Regions from separate parts of the Homo sapiens genome. Here region 2 is linked to region 1. Evidence: promoter capture Hi-C in human tissues and cell types (Jung and others, 2019). All regions are on one chromosome and are shown on one strand. The core of a region is centred on a gene start or on the middle of the fragment in contact, and the rest is flanking DNA. Distances in the headings are between cores, read along the strand shown. Region 1 holds the start of CCDC71 (coiled-coil domain containing 71). Region 2 overlaps QRICH1 (glutamine rich 1).

Region 1 (3,836 bases), core at 481-2,980:
GGCAATATCCCTGTCCTCAAGGAACCTAGGTTAGAAGGCCAGAAAAAGACACTGTTAAGATTCTTGGGAGTGAATGCTGGCATTCAGCTCAGTTTGCCAATGGGTCAGGAAAGGATTCCTGGGAGAGACAACACCTAGCTAGGATATGAGTGATGAATGAAAAATGATTAGATGGAAATGGAACAAAAAGGGGAATAGCTAATGCAATGGCTCCAAAGTGAGAAAGGGTTAAGGCATACTTGGTGTGGGATCTGGGATCTAGGTGAAAAAACAGGCGAGGATAGAGCAACAAAGAACCCTGAATGTTAGCCAAAGGGCCCAGACTTACACCCACTGTCCATGCCCATCTGTTTCTCCAGCTGCTGCTGTTCATGTGTGGAGCTGGAGTGGGGTGGGGGAATCTCCCTGCCCACCAGAAGTTCTGTTTTCAGTCTCTAGACAGGGTACTCAGCAACCCATTTTCTAGCTCCAGAGGCATGGAGACCTAATCAAGAGTCGGACTTTTCTTCAACAGAAACTAAAAAGCTGATGAGTAGCAGGTGCCAATGACATCTCTCTAGGCAACCAGGCAGACCAGGGACCAGGAAGCCAGACCAAGATCCCAAAGTTTAAGGACAATGGGAGCCAAAGGCTGCAAGTAGGATGGTGAGTCAAGGGGACATTAGCGGTATGCACTGTCCTACCTAAGACTTGGAGGGCCACAGACCTCAGTACAGCCCAGATGGAGGTGACTGAGAACACCTAACTACTCCCAGACTTCTTTAAAGAAGCTGTGGACATCAATCATAACTAACATCTAATACCCAACCCAACACTGAGGGTTCCCAGAAGCAAGAGGCAGCTCCCCAGCTGCACCAGAGCATTAAAAGATCAGCCAGGATCAGGCAGGTCCCTCGGGCCATGAGGCCCGTCTGTGTAGTTTCTTCCCACCGCTCTAATGCAGCAGATGAAGTCTTCAGAATACCCTGGAGGAAATGCCCTAGGGCTCTTTGTTTGGAAACATTCTTGGATCCTCAGGTGTCTTGGGCACTTCCCCTCCCCAGAGACCGTTCTCCAAGCACAATCCTTGCACATGACTTTAGTTCTTTATTAATGTTTTTTGAAGGGATGTAGTTCCCAGAGCTGTGAACTGTAGAAGAGAGAGGGACCTATTTCCCACCCTCACACGCGCCCCAGCGCAAATATTTGGGGTGACCTGGGGGCTCTTCCACCCAGGTTAGGCTGGGCTCTTGGGAGGGGTTTTCTGGGCTTTCGAGAAGCTTCGGAAACAGAGGCTCCTGCCCGGCCTCCGACTTCCCTTCACACGTGCCCCCGGGGAAGGCAGGAGAAGTTGACGGAAGATAGGGCGTGAGAGAGGCGCCACACAGGCAGACCGGGGGAGGGGGCAGATCGGGGCCCTCAGGCTGGGAATGCACGTCCTTAGGGCCCAAGCCGTGAGGCGGGGGTCACTGAGGCAGCGAAATGTACAGGGTGAACGGTGCTAGCCCTACCGGGACCGCACAGCCCCAGGGTGGGGTCGCTGGGCGCGGGGTGGGGGTGGGGTGGGGGGTCTCGGCCAGGCCGGCGGAGGACGCGGGTCCGGGAAGAGTTGGCCGCTTGCCCGTCCGCCCTGCCGCCTCGCGGGCCGCCCCTCCGCGGCGCGGCTAGGCCCGCGGCTCCAACCTACCGGCGCCGCCGCGGGGACCCAAGACGCGCCTCTGCGCCGCCTCCGCTGCTCCAACATGGCCGCCCGCTGCGCGCCGGAAGTGCACTGCGCTTCCGCTTCCGGGACCCAGCCCGCCCTACCGACCCTTGACCCCTGAGACCCCATTTCCCCACAAAGTCTGGGGGCGGAGCAGATTGGGTACCAAGGAGGACTGCCTGGAGGTGGTGGCCGCGGTGACTGCTCCAAACCCGTTCGGCCCTGTGCAGAAGTCTGAAGAACAGAGGTGCCCTCTGACGCGGCCCCAGGCAAGGACTCACTAGAGCCCGGCCAAGACTGGATTAGGGGTCATCTGACACCTTTTCTGAGGGGAGCTAGTGGTGCATTGACATCTGGGAGGGGCTCCTGACAAGGTTCAGGCCATCTTCCACCCTCTGATCTATCTTTAGCCACTGACAATGCCCACTTCAGTCCCAGACACCTGACCAGAGGGTGAAAGAGGAGTGCCTCCTGACAGGGAGTCTCAGGTGATCTCCTTTGTTTTGCAGTAAGGGTATCTTCTCCGAGGACAGCAGGCCTTCCTCTCTTCCTGAGAATAGGGCCTGTGGCACATGGCATGAAAGGCTGGTGTGCACGTGATCACAAGTGGTGCACGCAAGCCCAAGCGCACATGGAGTCTGGGGGCTCCAGTATACCACTGTGGGCCTGAGTATACTTGCTCAGGCAGGTGGGGGCAGGTATAGTCACTGGCCCAGCCTCAGCCCCTCAATGGAAGGAAGTCCTGCTTCCAGTCTTAACACTGCCCAGAACCCCTTTCCTTTTGCCTAGGAGTCTGGGACCTCAGTCTTTTTATCCATGCTCTTGGGCTAGTACGGGGTGGTGGTTATAGGACACAGGTCAAAATCAACCCTAGGGGTCTGTGACTTCAGTGAGAGGTCAGAGTGGTCTCCACAGCTCTGACCAAAGGTCCCATTAGTCAGAGGTTTGCAAGTCCAGGTTGGGAACCATCCTGGGAGCCCTGGTTTCATGGATGAGGTAGTGGGGGCATTTGCACTAGGGTCAGAGCCTGAGCCAGGAGGCAGAAATATTGCCACAACTCTTGGACTCTGACCCTTGCAGTGGTGCCTTATTTGGTAGTTGGGGTCAGGTGGAAGCCTATTGGCAATCACAGGAGGGTGGCGGGATGCTTCATTTAGGGACTGGGTACTAGCCCTTTTTCCTGCCCTTTTTCCAACCAGGATCCTCTGGTTGCTCTGTATTTTCCCTGCTTATACAGAGGGGTCCAGGCACTCCTAAAGACAAGTGCCTAGTCCACCCAGCAGTGCCATAGGCCTCATCTGGTGCCTCTTAGCTTCCCAGGGCCTCAGCACTAATGGTGAGGTCCTCGCTGCTTTTAAGTATAGCCAAGGTATCTAGCAGGAACTGCAAAATCTCCTGTTCCTCTGGGGTCAGTGCTTCTAGCCTTTTTTTCCTGGTGGAGAGAAAGCAAGAGTAGGGTCCCAGGGGCCAGGATCTCATGGGGTGCAGTCAGGAAGCCCCACCTTGGTGCCCCCAGTCCCCAGCTGTGGGTGAGTCCAGTCTCTGGCCGTCCATGGTTGAAGATTGACTGTTCACTTATTCAGGACCGATTCAACCAGTTACCTTCTGCAGCTTCTCCAAAGCCGGCAGTGTTGGCCTCCTGTGTGCAGGTGGGCCATGGCTGTGCAAACAGAAACCCCTTCCATGGAGAGCCAGAGCCCATCCTCCAGGGATAGCAACAGTACAGTTATATCCAGACCCCTCTCTGGTGATGTTCAGCTCAGAAGTTAGGGCAAATGGAAAACCAGGAAGGGTAGGTCCATCCTCCGGCTGTGCTGTGTCCCTTCCAGACATGAGAACTGGGGAAATGATAGAGATTAGGGATAAGGATCATGGGGGTACCTAGCTCCCTTTGGGGGTGGTAGGGCCGAACTTTTTGCCTCCTGGTGCCCAGTATGCCCTAGATGGAACTCTTTGGGAGCGCTCATCAGAGTGCAGTCTGACTTGACCTGGACTCTAGTGGCTGCTGAGCCTACAGGCACAACTGGGACCAGACAGGATGAGATGGGAGAGAACACAGGGTGATCCCAGGACCCAATCTTTGCTTTCCATTTGGCATCTTATATGGTTCTTTTTTTCCTTCTTCTTCCTTTTTTTTTTTTTTTTTTTTTTTTTT
Region 2 (3,836 bases), core at 533-3,032, 88 kb before region 1:
ATCCTGGGAAAAGGTGCTGCCAGAAAGGTGGCGCCCCCTCACTCATCACGCAAGTCACGTTGAACCTGATGCTAAACCAATCATAGATGACCCGCTTCTGGGTTGGGGTTTCCTAGGTAGCTAAGCAGATCCCTGGCTGCAATCTATTCAAAGTCAGTCCTTGACACTGGGGTTTGTTTAAAAAAAAAAAAAAGCTTAAAGAAAAAGGAGAAGAAAGAAAAAACTTTTAGTCCACATTAACTTTGAAAATCTTAGTGTTAAATAACCTATAACATCCACATAGATGTGATGAGCCCACTAACTAAAACACTGACAACAAATAAAGTACATTAAACAGGCTGCACCTCAGCATTTCCCATATACCTGAACCTGCTGCGGCTGCTGAACCTGGATCTGCTGTTCTTGCTGGGTTTGTGGCTGAACACTGGTGGTGACTGGACAGGCAAGTTCAAGCAAAGACCCAGCCACTTCAGTGCTGTCTGTGTATATGCAGTTCCCACCCTGTTGGTACACCATGGTAGTGGTGGCTGTCTGCTGGAACTCCTGAAGGGCTTCTGGCCCCTTAGAGGCCAGTGAGTCCAGAAATTCCTTCATCCTGTGTTGCGGGACAGACCGTGCCTTTACTCGGATGTACTCTTCAAAGGAGATGGTGTTCTCTAGGGAATTATTCATATTGCAGAGTCCTTAGGGTTCCTAGAAATAAACAGAAGTCAAAATTATGTTACTGTTTTTAGCAGGAAATGCCCAGAAGCAATTACCCTTGCACAAGAGTGGAATATATTCAGGGCAGCTGTATACATATAGAATCAAAAAATAAAGTTTTATTATACCACCTTATTTTTTCAATTAATGGATGTTTGAAAATTATTTCTATTAACATTTCTTAAATAAAACTATCACACTGAAAACAAAAAAACAAACACATGCTTCACAATACTGGATGAAACAGGCTGAAAACACACTTCCTACCCAGCACTAGGTCAATCCCATCTTCTCTGCAGAGCCAAGCACTGGACAGTAAATGTCACATGCAAAACTGCTCTGTGACCATCACAGAGAGGACACCAAGCAAGGAGGAAGCTAGGGGCAGGGATTCCTATGGATATGTTTTATTTCCAAGTATTTCCTACAGCAGAGATAGGTATGCCACCTAGTTGTGGCAAGACACAAGAGGCAGAGGATATGTTCTTCATCTCCCATCAGAAAAACCAAAAATCCTATTTTGCCATGTGGTGCTCACATTCTTTTGCAACACAGCTTACTACTGGTTAAAAGCATGGACTCTGGAGCCAGGCTGCCTGGGTTCAAATCCCAACTTTATGTCTCCTTTATTATGTAACTCTAGAAAAGTCAATTAACCTTAGTTTTCTTGTGAGTAAATGGGGACACAATAGTACTTACCTCACAGTTGACATAAGGATTAAATAAGGCATTTAGAAAATCATCTAGCACATAGATAGCACTACAGAAATGTAACTAATACTATTAAAATAATTCTGGAAAAAAGGTAAATAGTGCTTTAAATATCCAGGTCACTACTAAAATTCAGAAATAAATTCTACAAGTTTTCATCAGGTATTTAATTACCTTAAGAATTAACCTGCAGACGTACAGTTAACTCTCATCATCTGAGGGAAAAGTGTGCAATCTGTGGACTGCTGACCCCTGTCGCTGCTACCTTTGTACCATCCTCCCTTCAACAGCCCGACCTCCAGAACAAAAGTAGCAGCAGGATGAAAGAGTAACAGAAAACAAGCGAACGTTTTTGCCAAAAAGGATTATCAGACAATTCTGAATGTCTGGAAAGGTGATTTGTTCCCTTGAGCAATCAGGATAGATACACTAGACTGACCAGATGCTCTACCTTATGTTACAGATATAAAATATGTGGGTAAACGTCTCCTTTCTTCTACCTAGGCTCTAAGTTCTTGGTAGACAAGACTATGTCCTGGTTCTCTCCGAATAGCTCACCCATGGTAGTTGCTTCATATATACCTGCTGCATTTGAAATTCAATGTGGAAAACGAAGAATTATGGTTCCTTTTTTTTTTTTTTTTTTTTTTTTTTGAGATGGAGTCTCATTCTGTTGCCCAGGCTGGAGTGCAGTGGCTTGATCTTGGCTCACTGCAAGCTCCACCTCCTGGGTTCACACCATTCTCCTGCCTCAGCCTCCCGAGTAGCTGGGACTACAGGCGCCCACCACCACGCCCAGCTAATTTTTTTGTATTTTTAGTAGAGACGAGGTTTCCCCATCTTAGCCAGGATGGTCTCGATCTCCTGACCTCGTGATCCGCCTGCCTCAGCCTCCCAAAGTGCTGAGATTACAGGCGTGAGCCACCACACCTGTCCTTTTTTTTTTTTTTTTTTTTTGAGTTGGAGTCTCCCTCTGTCGCCCAGGCTGGAGTGCAGTGGCACGATCTCGGCTCACTGCAGCCTCCCAGGTTCAAGTGATTTTCCTGCCTCAGCCTCCCGAGTAGCTGGGACTACAGGTGCCCACCACCATGCCCAGCTAATTTATGTATTTTTAGTAGAGACTGGGTTTTGCCATGTTGGCCTGGCTGGTCTCAAACTCCTGACTTCAGGTGACCCTCCCGCCTCGGCCTCCCAAAGTGCTGGGATTATAGACGTGAGCCACCCAATTGGTTTCTGTAATATCCATAGCTCCACGGACTCAAGCAATCCTTCCACCTCAGCCCAGGCAACATGGAGAAACCCCATCTCTACAAAAAATATATAAAAATTAACTGGGTATGGTGGTATGCACCTGTAGTCCCAGCTACTACGGAGGCTAAGGTAGAAGGATTGCTTGAGCCCAGAGATCGAGGCTGCAGTGACCCGAGATCACTCGAATGCACTCCAGCCTAGGCGACAGAGCGTAACTCTGTCTAAAAAAAACAAACAAACAAACAAACAAAAAAATTAAGTTATCAGCTGGTCACAGTGGTGCACACATGTAGTCTCAGCTACTCAGGAGGCTGAGGTGGAGGATTGCTTGAGACCAGGTCTTTGGGCTGGGAAACCTAGAGAGACTTTCATCTGTTAAAAGAAATAAATAAATAAAATAAAATAAATAATTATAATAAAATATTATAATAATTACAATTATGTAATATAAATATAATTTTTACATAAATATAAAAATATTATAATTATAATAATTAAATATTATAACAATTATAATAAAATACTATAATAAAATAATAATAATTAAGTGGTCAACGATGTCCACATCACACATAAAGAGAGCATCAGGCCAAGCACACTTTGCCTAACTACAGATTCAGAGAAGGCTACTTGGCTTAGGTGATCCGAGAGCACTCATTTGCCACACTTGCACAGAATGTATCAAAGTTCCCCTTTGTTAATAGCACAGTAGCGATTTCCTTAAGAAGGCATCTTTCAGCCCAGTGCGGTGGCTCACGCCTGTAATCCCAGCACTTTGGGAGGCAAAGGCAGGCAGATCACCTGAGGTCAGGAGTTTGAGACCAGCCTGGCCAACAAGGCGAAACCCTGTCTCTACTAAAAATACAAAAATTAGCCAGGCATGGTGTCAGGCACCTGTAATACCAGCTACTCGGGAGGCCGAGGCAGGAGAATTGCTTGAGCCCAGGAGGCAGAGGTTGCGGTGAGCCGAGATCGTGCCACTGCGCTCCAGCCTGGGCGCCAGACTGAGACTCTATCTCAAAAAAAAAAAAAAAGGCATCTTTCATAATAGAGATCCGGTAACATTAGAAAGTTATGAAACTCTAATATCTAATCACATATACCCTTCTGCTCAAAAGGGGACAAAGGAGAGATTATATGAGCAGCCATTAACAGGTCCTCTACCATGCTGG

What was found. The method cuts DNA at HindIII sites, captures the fragments that hold promoters and counts their contacts. A contact is called where the count stands out against the background at its distance.
Region 2: a contact is called between a fragment that was not itself captured here and the fragment with the promoter of CCDC71 in region 1, in 2 of the 25 tissues and cell types used here (aorta and lymphoblastoid cells).

What each region holds. Positions count from the first base shown.
Region 1 is chr3:49,164,601-49,168,436 of GRCh38, forward strand. It overlaps CCDC71 (coiled-coil domain containing 71), which reads right to left and starts at 1,731. Exons shown (of 2, transcript NM_022903.4): 1 at 1,667-1,731. RefSeq lists silencers at 1,493-1,552, 1,573-1,652 and enhancers at 1,803-1,872, 1,893-2,012. The HindIII fragment of the contact is 16,226 bases long and covers 1-3,836 here.
Region 2 is chr3:49,076,346-49,080,181 of GRCh38, forward strand. QRICH1 (glutamine rich 1) reads right to left here. Exons shown (of 10, transcript NM_198880.3): 2 at 364-693. The coding sequence starts at 672. Among named protein-coding and RNA genes, the nearest start is that of QRICH1, 16 kb to the right of the region's middle. The HindIII fragment of the contact is 7,025 bases long and covers 1-3,836 here.